Regions from separate parts of the Homo sapiens genome. Here region 1 is linked to region 2. The links are contacts of gene promoters, found by promoter capture Hi-C in blood cells and fetal thymus (Javierre and others, 2016). All regions are on one chromosome and are shown on one strand. The core of a region is centred on a gene start or on the middle of the fragment in contact, and the rest is flanking DNA. Distances in the headings are between cores, read along the strand shown.

The links. The method cuts DNA at HindIII sites, captures the fragments that hold promoters and counts their contacts. A CHiCAGO score of 5 or more calls a contact.
Region 1: a contact is called between the fragment with the promoter of NHSL3 here and a fragment that was not itself captured in region 2, in 1 of 17 cell types (M0 macrophages). The highest score is 5.7, in M0 macrophages.

Annotation. Positions count from the first base shown.
Region 1 is chr1:32,740,338-32,747,785 of GRCh38, reverse strand. NHSL3 (NHS like 3) reads right to left here and starts at 5,956. Exons shown (of 7, transcript NM_020888.3): 1 at 5,597-5,956. The coding sequence starts at 5,831. The HindIII fragment of the contact is 20,286 bases long and covers 1-7,448 here.
Region 2 is chr1:32,392,055-32,398,748 of GRCh38, reverse strand. It overlaps BSDC1 (BSD domain containing 1), which reads left to right and starts at 4,308. Exons shown (of 11, transcript NM_018045.8): 1 at 4,308-4,345; 2 at 4,609-4,669. The coding sequence starts at 4,335. RefSeq lists enhancers at 2,480-3,175, 3,923-4,002, 3,874-4,569, 4,293-4,582, 4,570-5,267. The HindIII fragment of the contact is 1,550 bases long and covers 4,083-5,632 here.

The DNA of each region.
Region 1 (7,448 bases), core at 4,707-7,206, 350 kb before region 2:
TCACCATGTTGGCCAGGCTGGTTTTGAACTCCTGACCTCAAGTGATCCACCTGTCTCAGCCTCCCAAAGTGCTGGGATTACAGGTGTGAGCCACCACGCCCAGCCACCTTACTCCCCTTCCTATGACATCCAGGCCACTGGGTCTCAGTGTCTTATCTGGCTGGCTGGAGGTCAGCTCTCCTTTCCTGGACACAGCTCCCATCTCCATGCCTAGCCCCCAGCCCCTACAGGCTTGCTCCCTCAGCCCATTCTCAAACTCACAGAATCCTAGAACTAGCAAGAGTCTCAGAGGCCATTAAACCCCATCTTTGTCGGCCAGTCGCGGTAGCTCACGCCTGTAATCCCAGCACTTTGGGATGCCAAGGCGGGCGGATCATGAGGTCAGGAGTTCGAGACCAGCCTGGCCAATATGGTGAAACCCCATCTCTACTAAAAATACAAAAATTAGCCAGGCACGGTGGCACTCACCTGTAGTCCCAGGCTGAAGCAGAAGAATCGCTTGAACCTGGGAGGCAGAGGTTGCAGTGACCTGAGATCTCGCCACTGCACGCCAGCCTGGGCGACAGAGTGAGACTCTGTCTCAAAAAACAAAACAAAACAAAAAAAAAACCATCTTTGTCAAGACAGGGCATGTCTGGTCCAAAGAGGGGCAGGACTTACCCAAGGTCATACAACAGAGCAGAACTCAAACTCAGGGTTCTCTCCACAACTCCACACCATGAAAGGACAGTCCTCCCTGAGTGGCCAGAGGGAACTTGGAGAGGCCACAGTGAACTGACTGGAGTTAACATGGGGCTAAGTCAGCTAGGCCTGGCAGGGTAGCTCTCAAATTCTCAGTATCAGAGCCATGCCTACTCCCACCCCTCAGCCGCTGCCCACTGCACAAGAGAAACCCTCAGGAGGACTACATACCCCTTTCCCCAAAACTGGTTTTGTCTAAAACTCTAGAGAGGTTACCTGCCTCCAGAGTCAGAAACACAGCCATCATCATATAATTTTCTTTGTAGAGTGTGGCCTCTGGAGGCAGACTGAGTGGCTCCGTCATTGTGATGCTGTGAACCTCACTTCCACATAGATGGGGACCTTGCCTGTCTGGTCCTCTGGCATTCACATCACCTTGAACAGTGCCTTACACTCCAGAGTAAAGAATATGTCCTCTTCAAATAAATGAAGCTGAGTGACCTCGGGCTACTTACTCTCACCCCTTTTTTCTCACCTACAAATGGTGGTAACTGTCCACCTCCCAGGTTGCTGTAAGGACATAGGAAGACTTTGATGAAAATGCCTGGCCAGGGTATATATAGCACATAGCAGCCTTCCTGTTACTTCTCTTCCCATTCAGATTAGCCAGGACCCTGCCCTCCTTCCATAGGCGCTCGCCTCCTCCAGAAAGCCTCCCCTGATTATCTGCTGGGCTCCAATCCTGGCATCTGTCCCAGAAACACTTCCTACCCACACACTTGTCTAGAGTCCAGGTGATATTTCTGGAAGATATGGATTCCTGTTTGTTTTTGTTTTTTTTAACTTGTTCTTTTTTGTTTTTTTTTTTTTTTTTGAGCTGGAGTCTCGCTCTGTCGCCCAGGCTAGAGTGCAGTGACGCGATCTCGGCTCATTGCAAGCTCCGCCTCCCGGGTTCACTCCATTCTCCTGCCTCAGCCTCCCAAGTAGCTGGGACTACAGGCGCCCGACACCACACCTGGCTAATTTTTTGTATTTTTTAGTAGAGACAGGGTTTCACCATGTTAGCCAGGATGGTCTCAATCTCCTGACCTTGTGATCCGCCCGCCTCAGCCTCCCAAAGTGCTGGGATTACAGGCGTGAGCCACCGTGCCTGGCCTGTTTTTTTAACTTTTTCTTATGTCTGAGTCCTCCTGTGGGACAAAGGTGAGACTCTATCCTCTGTGAATCCCCCTCAATAATCATCATCATCATGGGCTGTTTTCCAAACATGGATCAGGGTGAACTTAACTAATGCTCAAGTCCTCAGCAGCATAACAACAGCAGAAACCTGCTGCCAGCTGCACCATGCTCCACAGTTCACAACGCACTTGCATGTCTGTTAGCTCATTTGATCCTGGAAAGGCCCCTATAAAGCTAGGATTTATTATCCCTATTTTACAGATAAGGATACTGAGGCTTGGAGGGGTGAATAACCTGCCAGCATCTTGTAGCTTGAGAGGGGCAGACCAGGGAAGCAGAGTTGTCCATTTTTTTTTTTTTTTTTTTTTGAGACCTAGTCTCGCTCTGTCGCCCAGGCTGGAGTACAGTGGTGCAATCTCGCCTCACTGCAACCTCCACCTCCCGGGTTCAAGCGATTCTCCTGCCTCAGCCTCCTGAGTAGCTGGGATTACAGGCACGCGCCACCACGCCCAGCTAATTTTTGTATTTTTAGTAGAGACAGGGTTTCACCATGTTGGTCAGGCTGGTCTTAAACTCGCGACCTCATGACCCACCCACCTCAAACTCCCAAAGTGCTGGGATTACAGGTGTGAGCCACCACGCCCAGTCAAGCAAAGTTGTTCTTAGGCCCAGAGCCCATTCCTTCCAGACTGGGTCGTTAGAGCTCAGGTGACTAAACTTATAAACACAGGCATAGCAACCCCTTGCATTTCTATGGTTACTTCTCTTTAATATAATTTTCTTTTTTTTTTCTTTTTTTTTTTTCTGAGTCTCGCTCTGTTGCCCAGGCTGGAGTGCAGCGGTGCAATCTTGGCTAACTGCAACCTCCGCCTCCCGAGTTCAAGCAATTCTCTTGCCTCAGCCTTCCGGGTAGCTGGGACTACAGGTGCACGCCACCTTGTCTGGCAAATTTTTTGTATTTTAGTAGAGACGGGGTTTCACCGTGTTGCCCAGGCTGGTCTCGAACTCCTGAGCTCAGGCAATCTGCCCGCCTCGGTCTCCCAAAATACTAGGATTACAGGCATGAGCCACCACGCCCAGCCTTTAATATAATTTTCATATGCTCTCTTGTGAGAATCTTGGTGAGACAGAAAGGTCACAGCCCATCAAGGCAATGTCCAGCCAGAGGATTCCCCCTTTCTTCCCCACAAGACAGTGGTGGAATCAGGGAGCCCACTGAGAAGTTGCTCATCCTACATCATGGGGCTTGCTAGTAGCTGGGCCAGGATTTAAACTCTCATTGGCCTGATTCTGATACTCTCCCCACTCTATCAAGTTCCCTCACTTCTCTCTCTGGGCCATTTCCCATCTGTAAAGTGAGTTGAACAAGAAGATCTTCAAGCCTTACCTGCTGCTCTATGTCCTTGGGAGAGTCATGAAAACAGTCCCGATTTTTGAGGCAGGTGATTTGAGTTTAAATCCGTTTGGTCAAATCAGTCACTCACTGTCCCTGAGCCTCAATTTTTTCATCTGCAAGTAAGATCTTGACATATTCAGACTAATCAATAAATGTCAGACTTCCTCTCTTCTTCTAAGTTTGTGCAGGGTAGTGAGGTCAGCAAGGGAATCATGGAAGACTGGTGCTCAAAACTCCATGACAAGCTCAGTTTTTCCATCTTAAAGTAGGAGAGTCAGATTAGAGGAATCAAGACCTGCCTCTCATAGGTCTTTGAGCCAGAGATTGGAATGGAGGAGATAATGACTTCCCCAGCAAAGATCCCTGACCTCCCAGGAATCTCCTGTGTATCCCTCCTCCCCACCTCTCCCAATCTCCATTCTGAACATTCTCCCTGAAAGAGTTAAGCCTTCTGCAGGCTTCCCGTTCCTGGCCAGCGTTGCCAGTGGAGATTAGTGGGATCAGATTTATTTCTCTTAATAAACAGAAAAGAAGTTGGGCCAGGCAGGTGACAAGGAAACAGTTGCAATAATAGGAGGCTGGAGTAAAAGGGAACAGGACTTCCTCCAGTCATACCCAGGGCCACCTCCAGACCTGGAGAAACAACAGCCAGGGGCAAGGAGGTGTTACCCATGCACGTGGGCTCAAATCAGGCCGACATGCTGCCCAGAAAGCCCAGAGCCACCTGATACCAAACACAAGGCAAGAGGGAGGCCTGGCCACTGACCCAATGAACCCAAACCCAGGCTGTTGGAGCAGTGACCTACAGGCTCAGCTTTTCCAGCCCCCTGCCTTCCAGGCTGGTCTCCCAGAGGAAAAAGGTCCATTGCCCTGGAGTATACACTGCTAGTCCACTAGCCTTCTGCCTGCCAATCCTGACAGTCTGACCACAATACATCCTGCTGCAATGCCCTCTTGAATGAGACGGGGATGACTTCAGACTGAATCCCAGTGGGGCAGCCCTGGGACAGACTCCATGTCCTGTTAGGACTGCAGAGGCTTTGGAAACACCCCTCACCCAAATCCAGTCCTCCCTCAGGGTTTGGCCCAGTCACCCCAGCCCCAGCACCCTCACTTCTATGTGTGGCTGTGCCGCAGGGAAGCAGGGCCCTTATCCAAAAGGAAGATCAAGCCGGATACAATCACACATGAGGCTTTCCACCCTCTTCCTGACCCCTAAAGTGTTCCTTCTAACTCTCCCAGAAGAGGTGGTTAAAGGACACTGGGAGGGTAAACACAGGCAGAATGGGATGGGCCCGCACACCCAGCCATTTCCTCACCTCCAGCACTGCAGCAGCAGTCTAGGAAAGGTGGACTTCCCAGGACAGCAAGCCCCAAGGGAGCTCCACCCTCTTGCAAAGACTCAAGCCCTCCCCATCAAAAGGAAGACAGAAACTGGAAAATGAGGGAAGGCCCAAGAAAGGAACTGAAAATGACCCCAGCAGGGATGGGCCAGGTCGGCTTCCCCGCCTTTCAGGCTGCCCGTCCAGGCCAGAGGAGGAGCCCAGGGACTCAAATTCAGAAAGACTGAGAATTAGCTGTTGAATTTTAAGTACCCACCCCAGCCCAGGTACAGCCTCTCCACTGAGCTTGGGCCTCAGTTTCCCCCATCTGTAAGCACACTTCCGACACTGGCATGTTTCTCCAGGGCTGGAAGAAGGAGTGATAGGGAGGGGCGGGTTGGTTCACCTTGGTGAGCTCACTACCCCAGGAGGTGATGTTTGTGGCCTGGCCCAGGTGAGCGTTGAGGGAGGCCAGGTGGGAAAAGCCAGCACTGTTAAGAAGCTAAGGCAGGGCACACTGTGCTCCATGTGAGGTCCTTTGTGGGGCTGGAAATCCAGATCCAGCTGGAGCTGAAACTCTTTGTGAGTGCGGTTGACCTTCCAGACCCAGAGGGTCCCCACCAGAGACCCAAGGCCACCTGTCTCTCCCATTGGCCACAGGCCAGCGTTAAGTCTCTGACCCCCTGACTCAGCAGAGGGCAGAACCTCGGTGAGCCTGGGGGAGGGGGAATCGCCTCACCGCCCTGGAGTCGGGCTACCAGCACTTCCTGCTCTGCCAGGGGATCCCTGCCCCAGCCGGGGGTCCCCTCCCCTCACAGCGGGGCAGGACTGGGTCTGGAAACTGCGGAAGGCAGCGCAGGGTGGAAGTGTTCGGACTCAGCCCTGGCCTCTTCGCTTTCCAGCACCAGCTCCTGGGGGTCACCCCCCTCCAACACGCCGCGCGCGGACCCCCGGCAGAGCCCCCTCGGCCGCACCCTCGACGCCCCCCCGCGCTCAGCCCAGGTGCCGACCGCCTTACCTCGGCCTTTGCCCTTGGCCCTCTTGGCCTTGTCCTCCGCCTTCTTGGCCCGGGGGGCGGCCGGTTCGGCGCCCTCGGCCCCCGCCGCCTTCTTCTTGCGCCGCTTGCCCCGCAGCCAGCTGAAGGCGCGGCGGAGGCCGGACGCGCCGGAGCGGGACTTCTTCCTGCGCGGGGGGCCGCCCGGGTTCCCCGGCTCCTCGGCCGCAGGTGCGGCGGGGGGCGCGCGGGCCGCCATGGCAGGCGGGGGCGGAGCGGGCGGCGGGTCAGGCCCCCTGCGGCGCGGTGCCCATGCCGGGGGCGGCCGCCGGGGACGCGCGCCCGGAGAAAAGTTTGGGCGGCGGAGGCCGAGCGGGCGCGGAGAGCGGACGGCGGGAGCGGCGCGGGAGGGGCCGGCCGAGCGGCGGGCGGGGCGCAGGCCGGCGGGGAGGGAAGGAGCGGGGCGGGAGCGGCCGCAGGGCGGGAGCGCCGCTGCCTGCGGCCCCTCCCCGCCTCCCCCGGTCCCGGCGGAGGGCGAGGTCCAGTCCCGAGAGGAGGGGGTCCCGGGAGCCCGGGGTCGTGCCCCCCGCTGGGGCCCGAGAGGGCGGGTCGTGGGGCCGCCCGGGAGGGGGCGGCACTGAGGTTCCGTCCCGCAGGGGGCACCGCGGGAGATCTGTTCGGAAGAGGGTGGTATGGGGTGGGGACGGAAAGGGGAAGGGCGCAGGAAAGGAGGAGCGAGAGGCTGGGGTTGGACCCCAGGAGACTTGGTATCCCAAGTTTGGGCTGGGAATAGACAGGGGATTCTGGAATATTTTTTCCTGGAATAAGGGAATTTGGAGAATTCCTTCCAAGCCCCGACAGTGTTGGGGCGCTTGCGCCAGGAATAGAGGCTTCAGACACGTCCAAGACCTGTGACCCGCAGTGGGCATTTCCCTCCCATCTGCTGACTGGGGTCGCCTCCTCGCTCTTTACCACACCTTCCAGGCTCCAACCATCTTCGGTGTGCAGCGGGGGCCCAGGTCCACTGTGTTCCTGCCTCACCCTTTGGTGGCAAGATGAGGATAGCCCTTCCTCCGTTTACCCTTGGACTAGGATTTGAGGCCCCAGGGCACTCCTGCCTGGACCAGGAGTTCCCACTGAGATGCTCAACACTAATTAGGGTTGAACTCTGGGCAGGTGAGAGGTGTGACTGGGAGGCTGGTAGGAAAGGAAACATTAAGAATCCTGAAATTGCTGTACTCATTGCCTACAGGCCTCTGGGTCTATTACAGCTGACCAAGCCCTTTTATATCATCTGATCCCACGACAACGGAAATGGAGGCCAGAAGGGGACAGAGGTGGTCAGCGGGAGAGGAGCCAAGATGGTCATCTGGGTTTTGTCTCAGGCTGGTCCAAGGCTTCAAACCCTAAGGACTAGAAATTGCGCTGGGGACCAGCTGTGGGTTCAGCACCCTTGAACCTCCTCCGTCAGTCCCCAGAAGGGCCTTGTGATGTCCATACCAGTGGGGTGGCCAGAATCACCCAATCTGACTCTGGTCACACGGCTTTCTCTTGGTCCTGGTCTCCACGAGGGCAGGGGCCCATTTGTCTGGGCCACCCAGCCCAGTCAGCCCCGGCGCACTGTAGATAGCACTCACCATAACATTGCAGGATTACTAGAGTGCAGTGGGATCTCCCTAACCTGCCTTAGCCCCCTGCATGTCCCCAGGGGCTCAGCTGTGGTGAACCTGGGACATCATTGACACTCTCCCACCTGGGGGCCCTGGGGCAGACCACCCAGTGTCCATGCTGGGCCTCAGTTTCTTGTCTAACCACCATTCATTCAGATCCAGCCCACAATCCCAGAGCACCCATTCTGGATCAGGAACCAGCCCTG
Region 2 (6,694 bases), core at 3,608-6,107:
CAAGTAAAGATCTGAATGAGGTGAAAGTTAGAAGCACATAAATATCTGGAGGTAAGTGCAGTCTAAACAAAAGGAACAGCAAGTTGAAAGGCCCCAAGTCAGGAGAGTCCCGGGAATTTTCAGGGAATATCAAAGTAGCCAATGTGTCTGGAGCAGAGTGACTAAGGGGGCCAGTAATGTGAGGTCAGATCAACTATACGGGGCCTTAAAGGAGACTGTGAGGACTTATTGGCTTTTTCTCTGAGTGAAATAAGAGGACATTGCAGAACTTTGGGCAGAGGAAGGCTGTAATCTGGCATGTATATACATATACATATATATATATATACACACACACACACACATGTTTTTCTTTGTTTTAAAGACAAGGTCTCTCCATTGCACAGGCAGTAATGTAGTGGCATGGTCACAGCTCACTGCAGCCTCAACCTCAAAAAATTAGCCAGGGCTGGGTATGGTGGCTCATACCTGTAATCCTGGCACTTTGGGAGGACGAGGTGGGTGGATCGCCCAAGGTCAGGAGTTCAAGACCAGCCTGACTAACATGGTGAAAACCTGTCTCCACTAAAAATACAAAAATTAGCAGAGCATGGTGGTGGGCACCTGTAATCCCAGCTACTTGGGAGGCTGAGGCAGGAGAATCGCTTGAACCTGGGAGGTGGAGGTTGCAGTGAGCCAAGATTGCTTGTCACTCCAGCTTGGGTGACGAGAAAGAAACTCTGTCTCAAAAAAAAAAAAATTAGCTGGGCGTGGTGGCATGCGCCTGTAGTTTCAGCTACTAGGGAGGCTAAGGCAGGAGAACTGCTTGAACCCGGGAGGCAGAGGTTGCAGTGAGCTGGGATCGTGCCATTGCACTCCAGCCTGGGTGACAAGAGCAAAACTCCATCTCAAAACAAACAAGCAAACAAACAAAAAACCACCAAATATCTGTTTGAGTACTTGCCTTCTATTCTTTTGGGTATATACTCAGAAGTGGAAGTGCTGGATCATATGGTAATTCTGTTTAATTTTTTTGAGGAAATGGCATATTGTATTCCATACCAGTTGCATTCCCAGTGACGTATGTCTTTTAAAAGATTACTTTCAGGCAAATGAAGACTAGACTTAAGGAAGGCAAGAGTGGATGCAGAAATATTTGTTAAGAGGCTCTTGTAATTAACCATGAGATTGATTATGGTAGCTTGTATCTACATAATAACAGTGGAGGTGGTGAGAAGTCACTAGATTCTGGTTTTGTTTGAAAGGCAGAGCCAACTGGATTTGCTGATGGGATTAGTTTGGGAGTATGAAAGAAAGTGAGAAAGCAAGGATGACTCCTAGGTTTTTGGCTCGAGCAACTGGAATAATGAGGTTCCATTTACAAATGTGGGAAAGTTTGCAGGAAGATGAGGTGGATAAATCAAGAGTTTGTTTTGGGACATGTTAAAAATAATACACCTATTACACATGCAAATAGACAAAATGAACCTGATGTTCAGAGAAAATGTATGGGTTGGAGAGGAAATTTGAGAGCCATCAGCATATACATGGCATTTAAAAGTATGAGATTAGTGAGATGGCTCACACCTGTAATCTCAGCACTTTGGGAAGCCAAGGTGGGTGGATCACTAGAGGCCAGGAGTTTGAGACCAGCCTGGGCAACATAGTGAAGCACTGCTAAAGAAAAATTAAAAGTAAGGCAACACAGGGAGACCTCATCTCTATTTAAAAAAATAATAATAGCTGGGCTTGATGGTGCATGCCTGTAGTCCCAGCTACTCAGGAGACTGAGGCAGGAGGATTGCTTGAGTTCAGGAAGTCAAGGCTGCAGTGAGCCATGATCGTGCCACTGCACTCCAGCCTGGGCAACTGATATGGTTTGGCTCTGTGTTCCCACCCAAATCTCATCTTGTAGCTCCATAATTCCCACGTGTTGTAGAAGGGACCTGGTGAGAGATGACTGAATCATGGTGGGGGCGGGTTTTTCCCGTGCTTTTCTCATAATAGTGAATGGTTCTCATGAGATCTGATGGTTTTAAAATCGGGAGTTTCCCTGCACAAGCTCTCTTCTCTTGTCTGCCACCATGTGAGATGTGCCTTTCACCTTCCTCCATCATTGTGAGGTCTCCCTGGCCATGTGGAACTGTGAGTCCAGTAAAACTCTTTCTTTTGTAAATTGCCCAGTCTCAGGTATGTCTTTATTAGCAGTGTGAAAATGGACTAATATGGCGACAGAGTAAGATCCTGTCTTAAAAATAAAATAAAATGGGCCAGGAGCAGTGGCTCACGCCTGTACTCCCAGCACTTTCAGAGGCCGAGGTGGGTGGATCACCTGAGGCCAGGAGTTCAAGACCAGCCCGGCCAACATGGTGAAACCCCATCTCTACTAAAAATACAAAATTAGCTGGGTGTGGTGGTGGGTGCCTGTAATCCCAGCTATTCTGGACGCTGAGGCAGGAGAGTCATTTGAACCCAGGAGGCAGAGGTTGCAGTGAGCCAAGATCATGCCACTGCACTCCAGCCTGGGCAATAGAGTGAGACTCCATCTTAAAAAATAATAATAAATAAAATCATGAGACTTTATGAGAATATCTGGGGAATGACTATAAACATCAAAAAGGAGGAGGACACCAAGGGCTGAGCCTTCTCCCAGGGAATATCCCATTCCAGCAACAAGAAGGCGGTGAGAAAACAGCAAAGAATACTGAGATGCCAATGAACGGGGAAGAAAGTCAAGAGGGCATGATGTCCTGGAAGCCAAATGAAGAAAGTGGTCAACTGTGTCAAATAAGATGCGGATGTAAAACAAGAACTGAAAAGTGGCCATTCCTCTTGGCGACCTTAAGAAAGTTATGTCAGGCTGGGTGCAGTGGTTCATGCCTGTAATCCCAGCACTTTGGGAGGCTGAGGAGGGCAGATCACCTGAAGTCAGGAGTTCGAGACAAGCCTGGCCAACATAGTGAAACCCCATCTCTACTAAACATACAAAAATTAGTCGGGCATGGTGGTGCACAACTGTAATCCCAGATACTCGGGAGGCTGAGGCAGGAGAATCGCTTGAACCCGGGAGGCAGAGGTTGCAGCGAGCTGAGATTGCACCACTACACTCCAGCCCGGGCAACAGAGCAAGACTCTGACTCAAAATAAATAAATAAATAAAATAGATGTTTCCGTCTTCCACAGGGAGGACCAAAAATAAATAAATAAATAAAATAGATGTGTCCGTCTTCCACAGGGAGGACGTGGGATGGTGGCGGAGCTGGCTGCAGCAGAGCTACAAATAAATATAAAATAAATAAAATTAAATAAAATTAAATAAATAAAAGAAAGTTATTTCAAAGGATTGTCTGAGAGGCAAAAACCTAACTGCAGTGAGTTCAAGAGAGAATGGGAGGAGAGGGGAGTTGCAGACTGTGAGTAGGCAACGCTTTTGCTGTAAAGGGGAGTAGGGAAACGGTGAGGGATATAGAGAGGGCTGGTTTTTGTTTGCCTTTGAGATGGGAGAAACAGCAGTACGGATGATGACAAGGATAAATGCAGTCATCAGAGGGAAAAGAGATGAAGGGGGGATTACTAGATCTATGTCCTTAAGCAAACAAGAGGCGATGGGATCTACCGCACACGTGGAGGGGCTGACCTTAATTAAAGTCCAAAGTATGTGGGCTGTGGAATCTCCCTTCCAATCGCAGTAGAACTCAATCCAGGCGGTCTCCGGATTTCTCCAGACCACCTCCACCTGGCGTTGTTCTGAGCTGGGCCACCGAAAGTTGAGATTACTGAATGTGTGTGTCTCCCATTAACCCGTAAGCCCTCCAAAGGCTGCATCTAAGTCGCCTCTGAATTATTCACATTCCTCCAAACTCTGGGCCACAGCCCCGCAATATGGGCTTATTGAATTAGCCCAAAGAGACACAAAGCAGCCTCTACGCAGCTGGTTTCACAAAGGGGGGCGGTCCTAACCCTGCGCTCTGGGATCCTGACGTTCGAGCTATCTCTCCTCCTCCCCTCTGCTCCCAGCTCTCCGCAGTCCAGCTTGTCGGCTGATCATCGTCCATAGAGGCCACCGTACCCGACGTTTGCGGACAGTGACAAAGAGTCAAGCTTGGTGGAGCCTGAGGACAGGACTGAATGACGATTGAACTGAGAGTTCAGGGGCGGAGTTTGAGGGCGAACTCGGGACAGAGACTGGATAGAGTTCAGGGAGGCGGGACCTAATGATGGCGCAGGGAGGGGATTGGGCTGAGGGCGGTGCCGGCGCGAGGATTGGGCCGAGCGCCTCGGGGGCGGTCCTTGAGGGGGCGGTGCCGTGTCGGAAGTCAAAGGTCAGTAAATAGTGGTGATGTCATGCAGGCAAGATGGCGGAAGGGTGAGCTTGTCGTTTTGCTCCTAGGCGTTGGGGCCTGAATTCTCCCAGGGTTGGGGTGCTGGGCGAGAGTCCCGGTGGGGAACGTGAGATCAGCGGGGGCGTGGACTGATCTGAAAGGGCAGAGTGGAGTCGCATTGTGAGGGGGTGGGCAAGCGGTCTGCGAAGCCTCGGCCCGCAGGGTACATCTGAGCGGGGAACAAACCGGATCCTTGGGCGGGCAGGAATCGCACCGCGGTGCTGCCAGATGTGTCTGTCTTCCACAGGGAGGACGTGGGATGGTGGCGGAGCTGGCTGCAGCAGAGCTACCAAGCAGTCAAAGAGAAGGTAAGCCGGGCCCGTGCCCTTCTTCCCTCAGCAGGGCCCTGCGCCGCCTCAATGCAACCTGGTCCAACCAGCCCCGCCCAACTTTTGCGGGCGCTAAGTCTCAAGGATGAGGCTGACCTGGGCCTTTCTTTTAGCCTCTACCGGTCCACGGGAAGACAGACCTCGACGCAAACCAGTGTGATACTAGCCACAGTGAAATAAAGATGGTTTTAAAGGCTGGAGTTAACGAACGTTTTGTAGGAATCCATAGGAAGGAGCAATTTATTCCAGCTCAGGAAATTCAGTTTCTTCGTGAAAGAGAGAGCATTTGATACAGGTCTTGAAGGAAAAGATTCTAGCAGTAAAAAAACTTACTCGTATAGTCATTCAAATATTAGAGTATATGCGACAACCAGCACTCTGATAGGTCTTGAGGATACAGACTTCAGCCAAACAGATGTAATCCTGGGCCTTACAAAGCTCACAGTCTAGTGGAGAGACAGCCATTAACCGAGTAGCCAAACAAATAGTTGTTTAGTTACCGTTGTGGTAAGTTCTGTGAAAGGAAAGTACAGGGGCACCTTGTCTGTTCTGGTTAGTCAGTAACTCACCAGGGAAGGCCCCTGTGGAGAAGGAACCTCATCAAGGGCAACCCTGCCTAGACAGGATGAAAAGCAAGAACCCAAGCCAGAGATGAGCATGAGCCATACACACTGGTGCCTGATGAGTTCTAAGTAGGGGCTATGCAACGGGCAGTAGAGAGAGAGAGATTAATCACCAGAGAGTGGAAGGCCTTCTTGCTGAACAATCTCTGTGGGATGAGTGATATTTGGCTGTGCCAGTGGGTAATTTGCCAATGTGTATTCCTGTTTCATTTCATGCTTATTTGTCAAAATCAGCCCAACTGAATTGTGGGAAAAGTTGATTACTATTTACCTCAAGCAATTGGGATGAGTCCTGCTTCAGGGCCAACTCCAGGAAGCTTCTGACCTCACCTAAATAAGTCCTCTACTCTGGGAGTATTTTTGTTTTGTTTTGAGACAGAGTCTCACTCTGTCACCTAGGCTGGAGTGCACAGGTGCGGTCTCAGCTCGCTGCAACCTCTGCCTCCCAGATTGAAGTGATTCTTGTGCCTCAGCCTCCCGAGTAGCTGGGATTACAGGCATGTGCCACTACTCCTGGCTAATTTTTGTATTTTTAGTAGAGACAGGGTTTCACCATGTTGGCCAGACTGGTCTCGAACTCCTCACCTCAGGTGAGCCACCTGCCTCAGCTTCCCAAAGTGCTGGGATTATAGGCGTGAGCCACCACACCCAGACATCTGGGAGCGTTTTTATTCCTCCCTTATCCTGGGTACTCCTGGACAGCCTCTCAGCAATAGCCCAGCAAATCTGAGAATGCCCTGAGCTGTTTATGTTGTTGATGAGGACTGAGAGGCTTGCACCCTAACATTTGATAGAAGAGACCCGATAGTAGCATATTTCCTGTTGGGTAATTTCCTGGCAGGAAAGTCTGACATTCATTCAGCAGATGTTGCATGAGGGCCTCCTGTGTTTGTCTCAAGGTTGGTCTTATCATAACTTATGAAAAATAGATAGTTGGCCAACCTTCCGTCTTCATTCTTGGAATTCCCAGTTAAAAGCTGGGGTGGGGGTGGAGGTGGGAGTTGTTTATGCCTTTTTGGAAAGAAAAGACGTAATTTCCCTTTTTTTACTTTCTTACTCTTATATGTACTTGGGCAAGTGTTTTTTGTTTTTTGTTTGTTTGTTTTTGAGACCAAGTCTGGCTCTGTTACCAGGCTGGAGTGCAGTGGCTCAGTCTCAGCTCTGCAACTTCCGCCTCCTGAGTTCAAGTGATTCTCCTGCCTCGGCCTCCTGAGTAGCTGGGATTACAGGCATGTGCCACCACGCCCAGCTAATTTTTCTATTTTCAATAGAGACAGGGTTTCACCATGTTGGCCAGGCTGGTCTCAAACTCCTGACCTCAGGTGATCCGCCTGCCTCGGCCTCCCAAAGTGCTAGGATTACAGGTGTGAGCCACCACGCC